Regions from separate parts of the Homo sapiens genome. Here region 1 is linked to region 2. The links are contacts of gene promoters, found by promoter capture Hi-C in blood cells and fetal thymus (Javierre and others, 2016). All regions are on one chromosome and are shown on one strand. Each heading gives the region's core, a stretch centred on a gene start or on the middle of the fragment in contact. The rest is flanking DNA. Distances are from core to core; before and after follow the strand shown. Region 1 overlaps NCOA7 (nuclear receptor coactivator 7). Region 2 holds the start of NCOA7-AS1 (NCOA7 antisense RNA 1).

What was found. Contacts are between HindIII fragments. The CHiCAGO score rates a contact against its expected background, and 5 or more counts as called.
Region 1: a contact is called between a fragment that was not itself captured here and the fragment with the promoter of NCOA7-AS1 in region 2, in 2 of 17 cell types (activated CD4 T cells and non-activated CD4 T cells). The highest score is 5.5, in activated CD4 T cells.

The regions. Positions count from the first base shown.
Region 1 is chr6:125,877,691-125,882,410 of GRCh38, forward strand. NCOA7 (nuclear receptor coactivator 7) reads left to right here. Exons shown (of 16, transcript NM_181782.5): 5 at 573-680; 6 at 3,400-3,513. Among named protein-coding and RNA genes, the nearest start is that of NCOA7-AS1, 61 kb to the left of the region's middle. The HindIII fragment of the contact is 9,442 bases long and covers 1-4,720 here.
Region 2 is chr6:125,817,219-125,821,322 of GRCh38, forward strand. It overlaps NCOA7-AS1 (NCOA7 antisense RNA 1), which reads right to left and starts at 1,640. Exons shown (of 3, transcript NR_126386.1): 1 at 1,592-1,640. All of the region lies in intron 2 of NCOA7 (nuclear receptor coactivator 7), which reads left to right. RefSeq lists an enhancer at 865-1,366. The HindIII fragment of the contact is 4,548 bases long and covers 1-3,114 here.

The DNA.
Region 1 (4,720 bases), core at 867-3,366, 61 kb after region 2:
TGATAGTGAACAATTATTGGTAGCTAATCTGAATTTCTTTCTGATTTCCTTGCTTTCACAGTATTCATTCATCAACTTTTTGAGTACCCTCCATGTATCAAGCAGTGTGCTGAGCCCAGGAGAAAACATTTTGCCAGCTTTGCCATACAAGCCAGCAGTTTATAGTATATGGAAAAGTCATGCAAATAGACAGAAAATTATAAGAGAGAAAGTAGCCCCACTTCCCCTGAGGGTGGGGACTCTGTGTACATCGTATTTCTTTTCTTGTTGTAGTCTTCATTACAGCTCACGGACCTTTACTTCATGCGCCTCAGTTGCACCAAAGTAAAATTAGAAATCTATTAGGGGACAGTGAAATTTGAAAATGAGGAAGCCCAGAAATGAATTGCATTTAAGACTTTGCTGTAAAATGATTTTATTAAGAATTGACAATGTATTCATTCTTTCTTATAGTCTATCTTGATGGAACTATTAGTTTGTTATTTATTCATATTGCAGATAAATTAATAGTATCTATCAAAAGTAATTTTTTTTGCTTTATTTATTGACTCTTACCTGTTTGATTATTCTAGGCTGGAAACCAGGACACCCTAAACTCCATAGCACTGAAATTTAACATCACTCCCAATAAATTGGTGGAACTGAATAAACTTTTCACACATACTATTGTTCCAGGCCAGGTAATTATACTCTTACTGGATATAACTCTAGAAATTCTGCATTTATCTTTTATTGCCGTTTTCAGTGCCTCACTATTGTTTGTCACAGGATTATGATAAATGATAATGTGCTTTGGTTCAATATTTTCTCTCCTTTATTTTTATTTATTTATTTTTTGAGACAGGGTCTTGCTCTGTTGCCCAGGCTGGAGTGCAGTGACACCATCATGGCTCACTGCAGCCTCAATCCCCTGGGCTCAAGCAATCCTCCCACCTCAGCCTCCCAAGTAGCTGGGATTACAGACATGAGCCACTGCACCCAGCTCAACTTTACGATATTTTCATATTCACAGGATACCTTGGCTACACATGCTTAAAATTTTTTTCCAGGCTGAAATGACAGCATTGCTGTATGGTTAAGAACTTTAAGACCTCAAATCCTGATTGGCATATGTGTTGGGAGCAAACCCAAAATTATTTTCTGAAGGCAATAGGAAACTTTCACCCCTGCCCATGATCCAGGCTCACTTCCATGTTGAGGTAGCACATGTTCTGGCGGCTGCTCACCTCTCTTTACAGTGCAGTCAACTGTTTAAGCACAGGAATTACTCCTTAGATTTGACATTTGGAATGTTCAGACAATTGAATCGCAATCTATGTTACCTAATACTTTTTTTAAGAGTTCAGATGCAAAAAAAATTTACTATTAGTGGAGAATTGCTTGGGAAAAACATCATCCATCCATTACTCTAGTTTAGCTATATAAGATAAATAAGAGCTATATACCAAGATCACAAAATTTTAGTCCTTTGTAAATTGCTTTTTACAGAACTCTAAACTTTGGCATTTCCATTGACCCATATTGAAGATGCTATAAAAGGCAATACTCCAAAACTGGTTATTGTATTTACTGTTAGTGCATCATAGAGGACAAATAATTCAGTCTAGGATGCTCCTTTGTATGAGATTCTGTAGGAGAGTACTTGTACTTCTGAGAAACTTCATTTTTATCTCATGGAAGTTGAATTCTGCTAACTAATGATGTTGTCTCTTTGCATTAATTATATGGAAACTCAGAGTCACTTTTATGGCCCACTTCTTAATGAGTGGTTACCAGTTTTGGTGCATATATTTTTAGTAGTTATCAGTCCTCATCTTATATCCCCCCTTGACTTTGATTTTCCCACTTTTATTTTAATGTGTTTTTTTATTGTTGTCTCAAATATTTTCTGGATTGAAGTGAGGTTTAAATGACTGGAAAGATAGGAGACAGTGAATAACAATATTGATCAGTAATCAGTTGTTATATGATTAGCTCTGAATTCTGTTTTATAACATTAAAGGTCATCATTTTAAGATTATATTTGGCCGGGCACAGTGGCTCATCCTTGTAATTCCAGCACTTTGGAGGCCAAGGTAGGCAGATCACTTGAGGTCAGGACTTCAAGGACAGCCTGACCAACATGGTGAAACCCCATCTCTACTAAAAATACAAAAATTAGCCAGTAGCCAGGCTTGGTGGTGGGTTCCTATAATCCCAGCTACTTGGGAGGCTGAGGCAGGAGAATCTCTTGAATGTGGGAGGTGGAGGTTGCAGTGAGCTGAGATTATGCCACTGCACTCCAGCCTGGGTGACAAGAGTGAAACTCCATCTCAGAAAAAGACAAAAGATTATATTTGATACATGCCACAATGTAGCATGTCTCATTAAAAGAATATTGAATGACAGGATTGTAGTAATGTTTTGAGAACCAGAATGTTTTGCAGAGGTTGCTATTCTGTATAATTTTTTGGGGTGGGGGTAGTTTTTAGTTACACATAACCCAGACACTGTTGGAAGAGAAAATATTGGGATTATTTTATTGATATTACCTTATACAATTTATCATATAAGGACCTACTGCTTTAGAACTCAGAGCCTGCTTGGAGTTAGCAAGCTGGGTTTGTTCCATTTCTACCTGGCACAGATATTAAGTTTAGAAGCCATGCTTCTCTCTCCTCATTTCCCTTATACTATTAGTCTCCCACCTTGGAGGGCTCTTCCCTCTCTCCTATCCAATTTCTACTTGTTCTTCAAGGCTTCAGTTGGACCCACTTGCTTCACTTGGCCTGCCCAGAATACTTACCCACCTTGCTCTCTCTTTTCTTTTTATTTATTTATTTATTTATATTTTATTTTATTTTATTTTATTTTTTGAGGTGGAGTCTCCCTCTGTCACCCAGGCTGGAGTGCAGTGGCACGATCTTGGCTCACTGCAACCTCTGCCTCCTGGGTTCAAGAGATTCTCCTGCCTCAGCCTCCCCGAGTATCTGGGACTACAGGTGCGAGCCACCATGCCCAGCTAAATTTTTTTGTATTTTTAGTAAAGACAAGGTTTCACCATGTTGGCCAGGCTGGTCTCAAACTCTTGACCTCAGGTGATCTGCCCACCTTGGTCTCCCAAAGTGCTGGGATTACAGGCATGAGCCACTGTGCCTGGCCTTGCTCTCCCTTTCTTTTTGAGTTCTTGCAGTGTCTACAGGCATGTTCTGTACCCTTTGTACTACACACATTCATATGCTGAGTATCATTTCATGGATTAGTCTAGAAAACCGTAAGTTGCTTATGAGTTTCTTGAAAGCAACCTAGGTCGTAATCATGCACTGAACATGATACTGTGTAGAGAATAACTTCTCCAAACACTCACTAGTGGTTTGCCTGGTTGCTGGTACTCACCCATCTGTTCTCTCCCATTCTCAGGTCCTTTTTGTGCCAGATGCCAACTCTCCTTCCAGTACCTTAAGGCTATCATCATCCAGTCCTGGTGCTACTGTCTCTCCTTCATCATCAGATGCAGAATATGATAAATTGCCTGTATGTATATTATGCACTGAAGTTCATTTTTATTAAAGAGACTTCTTTTAAGTTGTAGAATTCAACATGTTATTTTTCACAAGATTACATCTGAAATTCTCCCTAGATGGTTGAGATTAGGTAATTGGAGAATGCATCCTCTCCAAGGGAAACTTATTCACATTTAAGGTTTCAAAGGCAAAAATGGCCAGACACAGTGGCTCAGCCTGTAGTCCCAGCACTCTGGGAGGCCGAGGCAGAAGGATTGCCTGAGCCCAGGAGTTTGAGACCAGCCTGGGCAATATAGTGAGATTCTGTCTCTACGAAATATTTTAAAAATTAGCCAGACATGGTGGCTCAAACCTGTAGTCCCACCTACTCAGGAGGCTGTGGTGGGAGGATCACTTGAGCCTGGGAGGTTGAGGCTGTGGTGAGCCATGATCGTACCACTGCACTCTAGCCTGGGTGACAGAGTGAAACCCTATCTCAAAAAAAAAAAAAAAAAAAAGGCAAAAATGCATGCCTTGTGTAAAAGTATGAAGTTAAATTTCCAGTGACATGGATAGTTTATTTGTATTCCTCCTTTTTTTAAAAAAAAAAAACAAATTGAGTCATGAGTCTAATATGAATTTTTTCATTTAGGTTACTAGGTTAGTGTTTATTTTGTTGTTGTTGTTTGTGTGTGTGAGACAGAGTCTTTCTCCGTCACCCAGACTGCTGTAGTGCAATGGCACGATCTTCGCTTACTGCAACCTCCGCCTCCTAGTTTCAAGCGATTCTCCTGCCTCAGCCTCCTAAGTAGCTGGGATTACAGGCACCGGCCACTATGCCCAGCTAATTTTTGTATTTTTACTGGAGACAGGGTTTCACCATATTAGTCAGGCAGGTCCCGAACTCCTGACCTCAGGTGATCTGCCCACCCCGGCCTCCCAAAGTGCTGGGATTACAGGCGTGAGCCACCACACCCAGCCCATTTAGGTTAGTTTCTAAAGACATTTCATGAGTAAGTTTTATGGGTTCATACATATGCCTTTGCTTTTTTTAAAAGAAAAAAAAAACAGTTTGATTTGGGTATCTGTTATTACATTTGTGATATTTTTGAAGGACAGAGGATATTTGCCTTTTTAATGTTCCACTTAAATAGAAATAGTATACTCACAGGGAATTTATGGGGCTTGATTTATACACATAATTTGTTTGAAAAGTGCTTTTATTTGATTTTGAAATT
Region 2 (4,104 bases), core at 390-2,889:
CTACAATCATTTATGTACAAGTTTTTGTATGAGCATGAGTTTTCATTTCCCTGAGATAATTGTCTGAGAGTGCAATTGCTGGGTCAAAAGATAAGTGTATTTTTAGTTTTATAAAAAAGTGCAATACTCTTTTCTGGAATGGTTGTAACATTTGACATTCCCATCAGCAAAGTCTGAGTAATCCAGTTTGTCTGCATTGTCATTTGGTGGTGTCAATATTTTTTATTTTTATCTTAGCTATTCTGATAAGTATGTAGTGATATCTCATTATGGTTTTAATTTGTATTTCCTTAATGGTTAGTGAAGTTTAACATTTTCATGTGCTTATTATTAGCCATAGTGTATCTTCTTTAGTGGCATCTCCTTTCCTATCTTTTGCCCATTTTCTAATTGAATTGTTTAGGTTTTTACTGTTGAATTGTACACATTCTAGTCTTTTGTTGGATATGTGATTTGCAAATATTTTCTCCCGGACTGTAGTTTGTCTTTTCATCCAGTTAACAGAGTTGCAGAGCAAAAGGTTTTAATTTTGATGTGGTTCAATTTATCAGTTTCTCCTTTTATGAATTGTGCTTTTGGTCTGAATTCTAAGATCTCTTTGCCTAGCTGTATGTTCTGAAGATTCTCTCCTGTTTTTCTTTTCTGAAAATTTTATAGCATTATGTTTTATATTTAAGTCTGTGATCCATTTTGAATTTATTTGTGGATAAGATATGAGTTTAGGTCAAAATGGTGGTCATGCTTCTCCTCCCCTTCCTCCCCGTCTCCCTTCCTCACCTCCTCCCTTTCTTCCTGCTCCTCTTCCTGCTCCTCTTCCTCCTCTTCTTCCTCCTCCCCCTTCCCGCTTCTCCCCCTTCCTTCTTTCTCCCACCTCCTCCTTCCTCCTCCTCCTTACTTTCTTCTTCTTTCTTTTCTTTCTTCTTCACTTGCCCTACATAGTGATTTTAAGAGCTATAGTGCCTTCTCAGCCTGAATCCAAAGTGATTCCTGTAGTAAAGGTAACTGCCGGTTCATGAACAACCTGCTCAATGTTAACCTCTTCTTGTTCCTAAAATGTAGAGTCAGGGGAGCCCCTGAAACTGAGAATACAAACCAAAACTGTTCTGGAAGAGCAGCACAGTTTTTTCAACTCAGAAATGTAAAATTGTCTTGCTTATCATGACCTCTTCTGAAAAGTATTCTAAAAATGAAACAAAAAACGTATCCTAAAATGCTGAAATGTGATCTTGGGAGCATAGGGACAGTGGCACAAGGATGAAATCAGTGATGCTCTTAAGACAGTAAGACAACATGATTTGTAACTAGGAAATGAGAGAGATGGAGAGAGGAGAATGGAGAGAAGAGGGGGTAGGAGCAGGGAGAGAGAGAAAGAGACAGAGAGAGAAACACTGACTGACAAACCTGTAGTTTAGCTCTTACAATGCAGTGGAAGCCAGAAATGGTCAAGCTATTAAAAGCAAAAGGCAAACCAAAGAGAAAAGAACCCCCTTCAGCCTATAATCAGAAAAGAGCCATCCAAAGTTATACATCTTTTCAAATGCCTTCTGACTTAACTGTGGAATTACCATGTGGAACTAGCAACAGAACTTACTTGAAAGCTGGTTTCTGACAATGTAGAGCAGAGTTCTCTGGAGCAGCGTACTTAAGGGCAGTCCAAGCAAGATCTCTGGAGAGAAGGATAAAATGTCAGGCCAAGGGTGAGGCCAAACTGATGCAATCTCAGTTTTCTCTAAACTAAATTATACCACCTTACATAAATCTCAACTGGTGTTCTGAGGAAGTCAAAAGGAAGATTTACCCTGATGCTGTGCCTGCTGCCACAATTACATATCTGAAACCCTAAAAACTGCTTTTTAGCCTGCTTCCCCCTTCCACCTAGGAAAAACTAGGAACACCTAGTTTTTCCTCCTGAGTAGTTAAATAGCCAATGTTTTCTTTGTGTGCTATCTTATCATGTGGTTTCATAATCGTTGTGTGACTGTGTTTGATAAATAGTCCTTTGCCAAACCTGTTTTGTTGACGTTTCGCTCTTTAACATCAAAATAGAGTTTAAAATACCCTATTTTAATAATTTTGGATTGAAATTAGTGATTTGAGGGTCACCCAGTCTTTCCTTTCTTATAATTTATCTTGAAATATGCCTGTGTAACTCTAAATAGAGGGGTGGATTAATACTGCTACTAGATAGAGTAATTCTGGATAAGACCTGATGAATTTTTTGGATTTTCTGACCCTGGTCCAACTGGTTTTCAGGTGCTTCAGGATAGTTTTATAACAGTTGTTAAATCTAGATTGAATGATTTGTGAAACTTTTTCACAAATGGTTTTGCAAATAATTTATATATGCAAAATTAGTATATGTCTATATTAATTTCTTGATCCCTGACAGGTCTTGAAAACCAAATGAAAAACTGAATTACTAAAGCAAATTATACTTTCTGTACTATTTGTACTGTGTACAATTTATGCTATCCTCTGGGGTGACTATCATGTGTCATTTGTTACACCCCTGCTGACTCTTCCTTCCCCTTGTAGTTAGAATGCAAAATTTTCTTTAGTATTGCCATACAGGGCTGTCTTCTTACACACTTGCTTGACATTATTTGGCTTTTGTGATTTCCGAGTAGGTCCTTGTATGCCATTGGTTGAAGATTCTTTGAAAGCATTTTTTCAGGATCAAGCGTTGATTGAAGATATCCAAAATACATCTGTAGTTGAACCAAATGGTGTTTTGTGGGAGGTTTACTTTTCCCCTCTGATAAGGTGTGAGAGCCTGGGAGTAAACAGTGAGTAATATAGACGAAGACACAGACTGGGTGTTCATGTAGGTCCCTTGTTGGCTCCCACCTCCCCTATTCCCTGGTTGTCATGAAAAGCAGAACTGCTGCTCCCACCTCCGCTTTCCTCTTAACCCAGCCTTTCAGAGCAGCAGTAGGAGCCAGCACCACCTCTGTCATCATTCTCAGTGACAAAGGATGCAAAGTGTAGAACATTTCTTAGCTCCCATCTCCAGCCTCTGCCCTGGCAATTCTTCACCCTTGAACCTCTGACCCACAAGCAGAACACCTAGTGTTTGCAGTTCACTCCAGTGTATAACCTCTGGCAAGTCTTCTAAGCTTCCTTTACCTTACATTTCTTCAGTTGTTAAATGTTGCTAAAAATAACCAACTAACAAGATGCTTTTGAAGAAGGAGACATCCCAACCAGCCAGAACTGGAGAGAAGCTCAAATGGGACCCAGCAAGGAGGGCCAGAGCTGAACAGCTGGTCCCCTTATTCTCTTTTCCATGGCAGAGGAGATTTGAACCCACTGTATAGCTTTCTCTGTTGTGTGAATAGTACACTTTGTAGCTTTCGTGTTCAAGTAAAATGAAACCAAGATGGCTATGAAGATTGAGGGTAATATACGAACAGTACCTGATACAGTGAGTACTCACACATTCCTTTAATAACAAATCATTCCTGATCTTACTTCTGTGTCTACCTACATCTTCACCTAATTTTCATCTTGACCTCCCACTTTCAGCCCATGAGCTGCTCCTGTTGTTCAGATCAGGGAAGAAGGAACACTTAACGACAATCCAAATTGGAACCATATCATTTCCCAAAGATACTTTGCTATAAGCACAGTTAGTTAGGTTCTGGGATATAATGAAGTGGAGTTATATAGTCAAAGGGCCTTGAGAAACCTAACAGTCTTTTATTTAACAGTTGGACCCTAAGCCCATGAGGTGAAAGGGTCCATGATAGGCTGGCTCTATCCCAGGGTACTTTTAGATATATTAATTGGTAATCAGAGCCTCACCACTTGAGTGGCTTGATGAACCGTCATGTCAAGCGGCGTGCCAGTGATACTGGCCCCCTTGGTCCTCAGAGTGGCCAGGCAGGGATTGGGTTTGTCAGAGACCTGGGCTGGTCATCTTTAGCTATGATCAGCATCTTACCCCAGGGATGAGTAGAAGTATTATCATCTTTCTGCATGCCTTGATATGAAAAAGGCTTTTGTAAAAAGTGATCCAGATTATCTTCATACCAAACATCTGATTTAAAAAAAGTTCATCCCTAAATATAATTTGACTGCTATGATAATTTATACTCAAAGGGG